Regions from separate parts of the Homo sapiens genome. Here region 2 is linked to region 1. The links are contacts of gene promoters, found by promoter capture Hi-C in human tissues and cell types (Jung and others, 2019). All regions are on one chromosome and are shown on one strand. Each heading gives the region's core, a stretch centred on a gene start or on the middle of the fragment in contact. The rest is flanking DNA. Distances are from core to core; before and after follow the strand shown. Region 1 holds the start of DDX43 (DEAD-box helicase 43). Region 2 overlaps RIMS1 (regulating synaptic membrane exocytosis 1).

Evidence for each region. The method cuts DNA at HindIII sites, captures the fragments that hold promoters and counts their contacts. A contact is called where the count stands out against the background at its distance.
Region 2: a fragment that was not itself captured here is called in contact with the fragment with the promoter of DDX43 in region 1 in 1 of the 25 tissues and cell types used here (lymphoblastoid cells).

The regions. Positions count from the first base shown.
Region 1 is chr6:73,392,689-73,397,794 of GRCh38, reverse strand. It overlaps DDX43 (DEAD-box helicase 43), which reads right to left and starts at 2,967. Exons shown (of 17, transcript NM_018665.3): 1 at 2,640-2,967; 2 at 51-106. The coding sequence starts at 2,889. It overlaps LOC124901538 (small nucleolar RNA U13), which reads left to right and starts at 3,782; the gene lies at 3,782-3,882. It also overlaps a transcript of OOEP not described here. RefSeq lists an enhancer at 2,850-3,350. The HindIII fragment of the contact is 17,001 bases long and covers 1-5,106 here.
Region 2 is chr6:72,076,719-72,081,824 of GRCh38, reverse strand. All of the region lies in intron 2 of RIMS1 (regulating synaptic membrane exocytosis 1), which reads right to left. Among named protein-coding and RNA genes, the nearest start is that of RIMS1, 190 kb to the right of the region's middle. The HindIII fragment of the contact is 3,441 bases long and covers 1,477-4,917 here.

The DNA of each region.
Region 1 (5,106 bases), core at 1,718-4,217:
TTAGAAATGCATGATGCTCTCTTAAGGGCCGAAAAACACAGATGGCTTACTTGGATTGTGGTGTTTGTTGTACTTTGTATATTCTTTATTTTTGACCCACCACGACCTGTTTTTAAAAATAAAGGAATATATTGTTATAAGTTGAAATTAGTAAGTTGAAAATTTACCCATTTTCCTCAACAAACATTCTCTAGTTCTTCCCCCCAAATGCTCCTAGGGTTCAACAATCATTTTTTGTTTGGAAAGAGGGAAGTAAGAGGTTCTATTCCAAATTTTGGTGGGTTTTAGGAGACTCTTATCCCAGACAGGTGGAGACTATGGATTCTGTATCAGCTTGCACAAAACTTAATTGGGTCCAAACTGGTGGAGAGGATGTAGAAATTGGAACTCTTTCATACAACTCAACAAATAAGTTTTGAAAAATGGGCAAACACTTGAATAGACATTTCTCCAATGACATACAAATGGCCAACAGGCATGAGATGTTCAACATCACTAATCAGGTCCACGCAAATCGAAACCACAAAATGATTGTCACCTCACATCTGGTAGGATGACCATTATCAAAAACAGAAAAAAAGTGTTGGTAAGAATGTGGAGAAATTGGAACCCCTGTGTACTGTTGGTGGGATTGAAAATGGTGCTGCCACTATGGAAAACAGTATAGATTAACTAAAAAATTAAAAACAGAATTAACATATGATCCAGCAGTCTCACTTGGGGTATACATCCAAAAGAATTTAAAGCTGAGTCTCAAAGATATATTGCACTTCCATTTTCATAATAACACTACTGAAATCAAAAGGTGGAAGCTACCCATTTATCATAGACTGATTAATAGATAAAGTAAGGTATATACTTAATAATGGAATACCATTCAGCCTTAGTAAGGAAAAAAATCCTGTCTCATGCTACAAAATGGGTAAGCCTGGAGGATATTATTCTTAGAGAAATGAGCCAATTACAAAGACAATTACTGCATGATTCTACTTATATGGATTACCTAAAGTAATCTAACTCAGAAACAATGTAAATGGTGGGTCCCTGGGATGGGGCAGGAAAAAATGGGGAGCTGTTCAATGAGTATACAGTTTTAGTCATGCAAGTTCCAGAGATCTGGGATACAACATTGTGCTTATTATTAGTATTGTGATATACGTTTAAAAGAGGGTATTTCATTTTTTACAATAAAAAAGATGGATCCAGATCCAACATCAAGTGAGTGCTCTGTAGCACAGTGCCCTTTCATCTGCTAAGTATTAACTTAAGTGATTTTTATTGCAAACCTAGTGGCTTTCTTTCTTGGAGCATCATTCTTCAGATCTGAGCCCAAGCCTTCTGAAAGGCCAATGAGTCTCTGGGTAGTACAGCAATTAGTCTTACAATGCACTATTTTGTAGCAGCCTCCATCTATTCATTTTTCTCAGGTTTTAAAAAGGGTGAAATACACCTAATAGGTAAAATGTGGCAATTTATACTCGGGCTTAATGGCAATCAATGGGGTAATCATTCTAATCATTTTTAAATGCTTTTCAAAAAAATTCAGAAATGGGCCGGGCTTACGCCTGTAATCTCAGCACTTTGGGAGGCCGAGGTGGGTGGATCCACAGGAGTTCGAGACCATCCTGGGTAATATGGTGAAACCTCATCTTTACTAAAAACACAAAAATTAGCCAGGTGTGGTGGCGCACGTAATTTCAGCTACTAGGGAGGCTGAGGTGCTAGAATCGCTTGAGCCCGGGAGGTGGAAGTTGTAGTGAGCCGAGATCACGCCACACTGCACTCCAGCTGGGGCCACAGAGCTGCCTCAAAAAAAAAAAAAATCAAAAGAAAGAAAAAAATTAAAAATTCAGAATTGAATGTTAACACTCAAGATGTAGTAAGAAAAGTTTTTAACTTTTTAAAAATTAAGGAAACTAAAAGCAAGATACAACTGCTCTAGGCAGCCCTACAATGACCTTATAGCTTTTCTTTGATTTCTGGCTCTAAATGGTACTCATAGAAAGACTGATTAAGTTTTGTTTTTCATTCTGGGGTTAGCTGTCTGTTAAAAGGCCTGTTCTAAGCATCCCTCTTCAGCCCTAAGATTTCATAAGTCTTCTAGGAGTTGCTCTCCCAAATACATTGTCTGTATAAACACCAAAAGGTGGATTAAATTACTTTTTTTTTTTTTTTTTAATTGAGACGGAGTCTTGCTCTGTCACCTAGGCTGGAGTGCAGTGGCGCGATCTCAGCTCACTGCCAACTTCTGCCGCCGGGTTCAAGCCATTCTCCTGCCTCAGCCTCCGGAGTATCTGGGATTACAGGCGCGCGCCACCACGCCCAGCTATTTTTTTTAATATATATATTTTTAGTAGAGACAGGGTTTTGCCATGTTGGCCAAGCTGGTCTCGAATTCCTGACCTGGGGTGATCCGCCCGCCTCGGCCTCCCAAAATACTGGGATTACAGGCGTGAGCCAACGCGCCCGGCCAGATTAAATTATACTCTATCCCCAGGTTTTACAAATAGCTCTGGGAGAGACCTGAACCTCACTAGGTGGCAGCTGATTGGAGGTGAGGCAGTGGGGAGGAAATGCCTTCGCCCAGGCTCCGCCCCTGGCCCCACCTATCCTGCCCTGCCAGCCACTCCCATTCTCACCGATTACCGCGCCAACAAAGTGGCTCTTCAAAGCAAAACACAGCGGCAGTTCCTCGTGACCAGCGGCCACGGCCTCCGGGGGCCTAGAGGTGCCTCTCCAGCGACCACCTCTGCCGACACTATATCCCTCAGGACCTGTTCGATTCAACTCCTCCGCCGGCCTCCTCTCTGGCGCTCGGGACACTGTCGAGCTTCGCCGACTAGCAACGACCCACGTAGAGGCCTTGGGAGCTCCTCCGTGGTGGGACATTGTTCCAAGAAGGGGCGCGTCCGACGTCGTTGCCGTCCAGCTCTGCACCACCTGACCGTGACGTCGTAAGAGTAGCGTGCCAGGGAAGCCACGCAGCCGCTACTTAAGGAGCCCGCACGAGGCTAGCCCCCCCGCCCACGCTCTCTATCCCGCCCACTTCGCACTGATTTCACGCAGCCATTGGCCAGTGAGCGTTGTGGGCGGGACTTTCCCAGTTTTAGCCAATCGGTTTTCTGAACCGTGGGAGTGTGCCTTGAAGTAGTCGATGTGCCCCGCCCCCCACCCCCCCACTGTGTATTCCTTTCCAGGCGTGGGACTTTTTCCAAACGCCCAATTTGCTCCCTCCCCTACTGGACACACACCTCGGGTTCCTGGCATCTCAGTGCCTTGGAAACTTTTTTTTTTCTTTTTAAATAGAGACGGGGTGTCGCCGTGTTGCCCAGGCAGGTCTTGAACTCTTGGCTTCTGGCTTCAAGTGATCTTCCAGCCTCGGCCTCCCAAAGTGCTGGGATTACAGTCAGCCACTGCACCGGAAATGTTTTCAACCGTGACCCATAAAGGTAAGTCACTGTTACAAGGTGACCCAATCCACACATAAAAAACTTGAAACAACAGATTGACAAAACAGCATTTATCCTCGCTATGTAAGCTGCATTTTGATACATTTACGCTTATTTTAGTTTTTGAAATGGTTGTAATCCACAAAATTAAAAAAAAAAAATTTAATAGAGATGGGAGTTCCCAGTATGTTGCCCAAGGCTGGTCTTGAACTCCTGGACTCAAGTGATCCTCCCACCTCCACCTCCCATAGTGCTGGGGTTACAGGCCTGAGCCACTGCACTCGGCTCACAAAATGTATTTAATGGCCCACAGCTTAAAGATCACTGACTTGATCCTTTTGTAAGTCATAAGTGTGATTGGGTTTTCATGCTCTTGTGTCAAATGTGCCTCCCTCAAACCTTGTTACGAAGTGGGCACACTACCCACCTGATGTGAAAAATGAAGAGAAAAAGATCACTGGCTTGAGAGACATTCATTGCTCTACACAGTCTTCTGGATGTTTGCTATGTTTTTTTTGTTTGTTTTCTTTTGTTTTGTTTTTGACCTCTGTCGCCTAGGCTGGAGTGCAGTGGTGCGATCACTCACTGCAGATTCGACCTGTTGGACTCAAGTGATACTCCCACCACAGCCTCCCGAATAGTTGGGACTACAGGTGTGCACCACCATGCCAGGCTAATTATTTTGTAAAGACAAGACCTCCCTATGTTGCCCGGGCTGGTATCCAACTCCTCCTGCCTTGGCCTCACACAGTTGAGGGATTACAGGTATGAGCCACAGTGCCTGGCCTGCCATAATTTTAGAGCTAAGGAAATAAATTGAATAGATTCCTGAAGCATTACCGTCACTGCAGCCTGGCTCTGTGGCTGGACATACTACTACTCCAGGGCTTCAAGCCAGCTGCAAGTGCACTCCTTTGATTAGGATCTTTGAATTATCTGAACAAATTTCAGTTTAGGCCAGCAGGGATAACTCATACCTGTAATCTCAACACTTTAGGAGGCCTAGGCGGAGGATCTCTTGAGCCCCAAGGTTCAACATCAGTCTGGGTAACATAGTGAGACCCTGCCGGGTGTGGTGGTACAGGCTGTAGTCCCAGCTACTCAGGAGGCTGAGGTGGGAGGATCACTGAGCCAGGGAGGTTGAGGCTACAGTGAGCCGAAGTGCCGAAATGGTGTCACTGCACTCCAGTCTGGGCAACAGAGCAGAGACCCTGTCTCAAAAAAAAAAAATTTTTTTTTTTTCAGTTCAATCATCCATCAAACACAGTGGACACCAGGCCAGGCATGGTGTGGCTCATGGCTGTAATCCCAGCACCTTGGGAATGTGAGGCAGGCAGATCACTTGAGGTCTGGAGCTCGTGACCAGCCTGGTCAACATGGTGAAACCCCATCTCTAATAAAAATGCAAAAAATATTGGCTGGATGTGGTGGCTCATGCCTGTAATCCCAGCACTTTGGGAGGCAGAGGCGGCTGGATCACAAGGTCAAGAGATCGAGACCATCCTGGCCAACATGGTAAAACCCCATCTCTACTAAAAATACAAAAATTAGCTGGGCGTGGTGGTGTGCGCCTGTAGTCCCAGCTACTTGGGAGGCTGAGGCAGAATAATTGCTTGAACCCGGGAGGCAGAGGTTGCAGTGAGCCAAGATTGTGCCA
Region 2 (5,106 bases), core at 1,948-4,447, 1.3 Mb after region 1:
AAGTTCTTTTATATCCACGAAAGAGAGATCATAAAACCAATAATTCAAATATTACTGCTAATGTAGAATATAAAATTCCAGAGACTATCAGAAGGATTTTTAATTTATACAAATGCAGATGTATTCTATATCTGTCCCATGTAACCCAGAACCCCTACCACTGTTTAATCAACTCCAGACAACCTCTTCTACCCTCACCAGCCACTGCTTGGTAATAATCAAGTCTATTTTTAAAACTTACCATTTTATGGTATGGTATATTTAGATACTAAAAAAAAAGTGTCATAATGCTTTCACTAATCACAGTGCATACAAAGCTAGGAGCAGTCATTTTACCTTTCATAATATTGCACCATCTATGCGAAACTTTGAATAATATGAAGGTACTTTGAATTTGAACCGCATTTAATTCAATAGACTGTGTCAGAACCCTGGACAGAAAATCTTGCAGTTTTTGTCACTGTCATGATCCAATCAAATTAACCATGATCTAATTCCAAGTCAACAGTTCTATTGATTTTGTAGCAATTGGTCAAAATGAAAACACTTTGCTATACTTCACTTATGAGCAACACCCTATTTTATCTATTTTTGGTCATTTCCTTTGAGTATTTGAGTAATCCCCTCTGATAAATCATCTTAACCTTAAAATCTGGGTCTCATCCTTTCTTACCCAATTCAGTAACCCCTGCATCAAGTCCCTTAGAACAGGCAATTGGTAAATATTTAGAGTTCAATTGAACTGAAAGCTGTTCAGTGGAGTAGCCCAGGAAACGTACCCTGTGTGTGATTCTAAGGAGAAATCTACTTGTCCTCTGACTCTTTAAGTTTTATTGCCCTTTGCCCTTCTTAGGGTTAAACTTAGCATATTGAAAACATTGTAGCTACTCAGAGTGAAATTCATATTATATTATCATCTGAGGACTTTGAATGCTAAGTAATGTTTTGTTACTACTGATTTCCCTGTTTTTTTAAAGTGTAAGTAAGGTAGTTAGAGAAGGCTTCACCAAAAGGTGAAATTTGAGCAAAGACCTGAAGGAGGTGAGGGAGCACATTACAGAGAGAGGGGCTTGGCAGAGGATGCAGCAAGTGTGAAAGGCCTGAGGTGGGAGCCCACCTGGTGAGGCTGAGGCAAAGTGGCTGGGCCCCTGTGGTAGGAATGGACTGAGCAAGGGCAGAGGAGGAAGAGGGTACACAGGTTATGTGAGCTTTCTTCATCATCATCGGGATTTGGCTTTTACTCTGGGTGAATGGGAAGCCATTGGAAGAGTCTGAGCAGAGGAATCAGATAACTGGACTTACATTTTCATACGCTCCCTCTGGCTCCTATGTTTGTAATAGAAGACAGCAAGGAGGAAAGCTGAGACTCCAGTCAGGAGGCCTGGCAATAATCCAGCTTACAGACAATGGAAGTCTGGACCATAGCTCTGATAGTGGAGGTGGGGAGTGTTCAGTTACATCTTCCTTCTACCTTGCTTTAACTCTCCCAGAGTCTGTGCAGGTAGGCACATTTTATGTTCATGACTGTTATGTACTTTGTTTTGTATTTTATTTTATTTTTGAGATGGAGTCGCGCTGTGTTGCCCAGGCTGGAGTGCAGTGGCATGATCTCGGCTCACTGCAACCTCTGCCTCCCGGGTTCCAGCGATTCTCCTGCCTCAGCCTCCCAAGTAGCTGGGATTACAGGCATCTGCCACCATGCCTGGCTAATTTCTGTATTTTTTTTTTTTTTTTTTTTTTTTTTTTTTTTAGTAGAGACACGGTTTCACCACGTTGGCCAGGCTGGTCTTGAACTCCTGACCTCAAGTGATCCACCTGCCTCAGCCTCCCAAAGTGTTGGCATTACAGGAATGAGCCACCGTGCTCAGCCCGTTTTGTTTTTTAAAAAAACGATTGTCAGGTTGCATTTTTCTATTTTATTTTATTGATTGATTGAATTTTGAGACAGAGTCTCTGTCTGTCACCCAGGCTGGAGTGCAGTGACACAATCACAGCTCACTGTAGCCTCAATCGCCTGGCTCAGGCAATCCTCCCATGTCAGCCTCCCAAGTAGCTGGGACTACAAGCACGCCCCACCATGCCTGGCTAATTTTTAAATTTTTTTGTAGATACAGGGTCTCACTATGTTATCCAGGCTGGTCTCCAACTCCTGGGTTCAACTGATCCTCCTGCCTTGGCCTCCTAAAATGCTGGGATTACAGGCATGAGCCACCTCACCCAGCTGTATTTTTCTGCTTCATACTGTGCATGTTTTCTCAGCATCAAAGACAATTATTGCCAAATCACATCAAGTGAAGGGTGTTCAACTTTCTGAGCCTGAGTGACATCAAAGAAAACTGTGTCTCATAATTGGAAGAGGGTGCAGAAGTATGATAATATATTATCTCATAGTTAAAAAATCCATATTTATTTGACACTCTATTGGCATCATGAATGAAGTATCCACCTGACACCTACCCAGCATCTGAAACCTGGCAATCACTATAACATGAAGGTAGACCCTGCTTGATACATCAAACAGCTTAAAAGTTCCCAGAAATTTTAATTATTTTATATGTGCTATTAATATTGTGTAAGGAATCTGAATACACAGTAATCCCACATCTGGAAATCTTATGTAAGTAGTGTTCCTTCAACCTCTTTTTGTTTCTTCTTGCTTCAGTGCTAAGCCCCAGTGGTCATACCTTTTTAGTCCATGTACAAATCAAGGTAGAGGTTATATTAAATGGTTATTAGAATGCAGGCTCTATGAAGGAATAAAAACAGCTCCAACTCTTAGGGCTTTTTAAATCATCTTTTTCTGTTTGTTTTGTAATAGATTCCACCTTTTCTTAGGAAGTTATACAAACGTGAACTGTGATGTGATAAAGTTAACTTCCTCAAATATGTTAAATGCTTAGTATGTATAGTGTTTGGGTGTATCTGTGTGTATGTGTGTATAGATATATATACACATATAAATATATAAAAAAACTTTGTTAGATGATCCAGGATACTGCAGAGCCTCAAGGTCTTCCATTTAATATGAGTTCTCATTGTGCTATGCTATAAATTTAGATATGGAAAGTAGGCATGTATAATTGGTTCAGATGCTGAGAAAATGCTCCTTTAAATAAAGGAGCATTGTTTTTGTTTGCTTGTTTTTTTGTGTTTGTTTTTGCTTCTCCTAAGTCTAGGAGAAAGCTTCTACCTAATGAAGCAAACAGGTAGTGAACTAAAGATAGGTTTGGTATAGCAACCTGTCTCAACTTCCGATATAGGCACTAGTCTCTGCATAGTAAGCTCTGGGCATGGCTGCTGCAGCCACTACCAGTTTTGTAAGGATAAGTATCCTTGCCAATATAACAAGAAAATATTTCACAGAAAAAAGGGAACTTGCAAGGAAGATAATACATGAAGTATTAGGGAATAGAACTGGAAGGAAAGAGAGAGAAATAGGGAGAGCTCAGATTAACTACAGGCAAAGAGTGAGGTAACATTTCATAGTAATTACTTGCATCTAAAACCTGGTGTGTACAGTATGTCTCCTGCCTAAAAATAATTTAAACAGCCTGGCTAAGAGCACCGCTAATTTGTCACTGTGTGCAACCTGCTGCTCACCTTTCTATAGTATCTGTGTGAAAAGGCATTTTAAATCCTACTATAACCACATAATCCAAACATCACCAAATGATCAGATTGCAAGCTTCATTTAGAAATGCTCTCAAGTCTAAGGATACATGGATTATTATAGTTTTTAACAGATTGCTTTCAAAACCCAAAGATTTCTGGGTTTTGTTTTAGCTTTAAATACCATCATAGTAAACAAAAGCGTAGAGGCATGAGGCAAGGGGGGATTGTGTTATAAATTTTAGAAAATTTCACTATCATCTAAAGTGAAGCTATCCCCTTTCTTTTACTCCTAGGTTAATGAAAGCCCAGAAAAGGGTTTCGTCGAATGTCCATGGTCAGCATCCCCTAAGTAAGGGCATTATTACCAGATACAAGCCAGGGCTGGAACAAAGGCTCTGCCAGTGATTTGCTGAGTGATCATGAATAAGTGAATTAGTCCATCTAAGCTTTATTTCCCTCATCTGTAAATTGAGGGTAGTAACTGTACCTCTTAGGACTTTAGAGAATGTTGGTGTAATATCTGACACAGCTTTAATGCTTAGTAGATCTCAGTTCTCTTTCACCACTTTCAACTTTCAGAGGAGTGTGTTTTGCTCCTTATTCTGTTTCTACAGAAAAGGGTAGGAGAGAGGAATGGAAAGACCAATAAAGTAAGAAGACCTAAGTGTGAGTTGTGGTTTTGTCTCTTACATCCCGGACAACTTTGGACATAGCCCCTTAGCACTTCTGAACTGGGATTCTTTCTGTCTCTTAAGAGTGATACATTCATAAATTCAACACATAATAATTGATCATCTACTGCATACCAGGTGCTTTTGAGGCACTGGTGATATAAACATGAACAAAACTAAGTCCTTGTTCACAGAAAACTTGTAGGTAACTAAGAGAGGCAGGTGATAAATCAGATTAACAAAAGAACATGGAGAAATAGCAGGTAGCTTTAATAGCTAGGAAGACAAATAAAAGAGAGAAACATACAGACACGCCCCTGGCTAGGGGTAGGACATGGCTACATAGACAGGATTGTCAGGGAAGCCTGAGTGAGGAGTGGGATCCTGAAGGACGAGGAGAAACACGCCTTCCACTCATGTGGGGAAGAGGATTCCAGGCAGATGGAGCAGCCCGTGCAAAGGCTGGACAGGAAAGAGCTTGGGTCAGGGCAGACGAGGCAGAGTGGAGTGGGGATTGGAGATAAGGTCAGTTACATGAAGTCAAGAAGGCCTTGAGAACCATGGAGGGAATTTTTTATTTTCTTCTAAGCGGAATGGGAGGTCACTGAAGGACTTTTATTGACAAATTTATGTGATGGGACAGAGAATTGAAAGAATCCCTTTGTTTTTCCCAGGGAAACCAGACCATAAGCAAGGCAGTCCAGGAGAGAGGCAAGCCACATGGTTCTTTGAAAGAGTGCTTATGCTGGAGGTAGTAAGGAAAAGTCAAGCTGAGGATTTTTTTAAGCCCTCACACCAATGTAAAATATTATTTCAGTGCAGA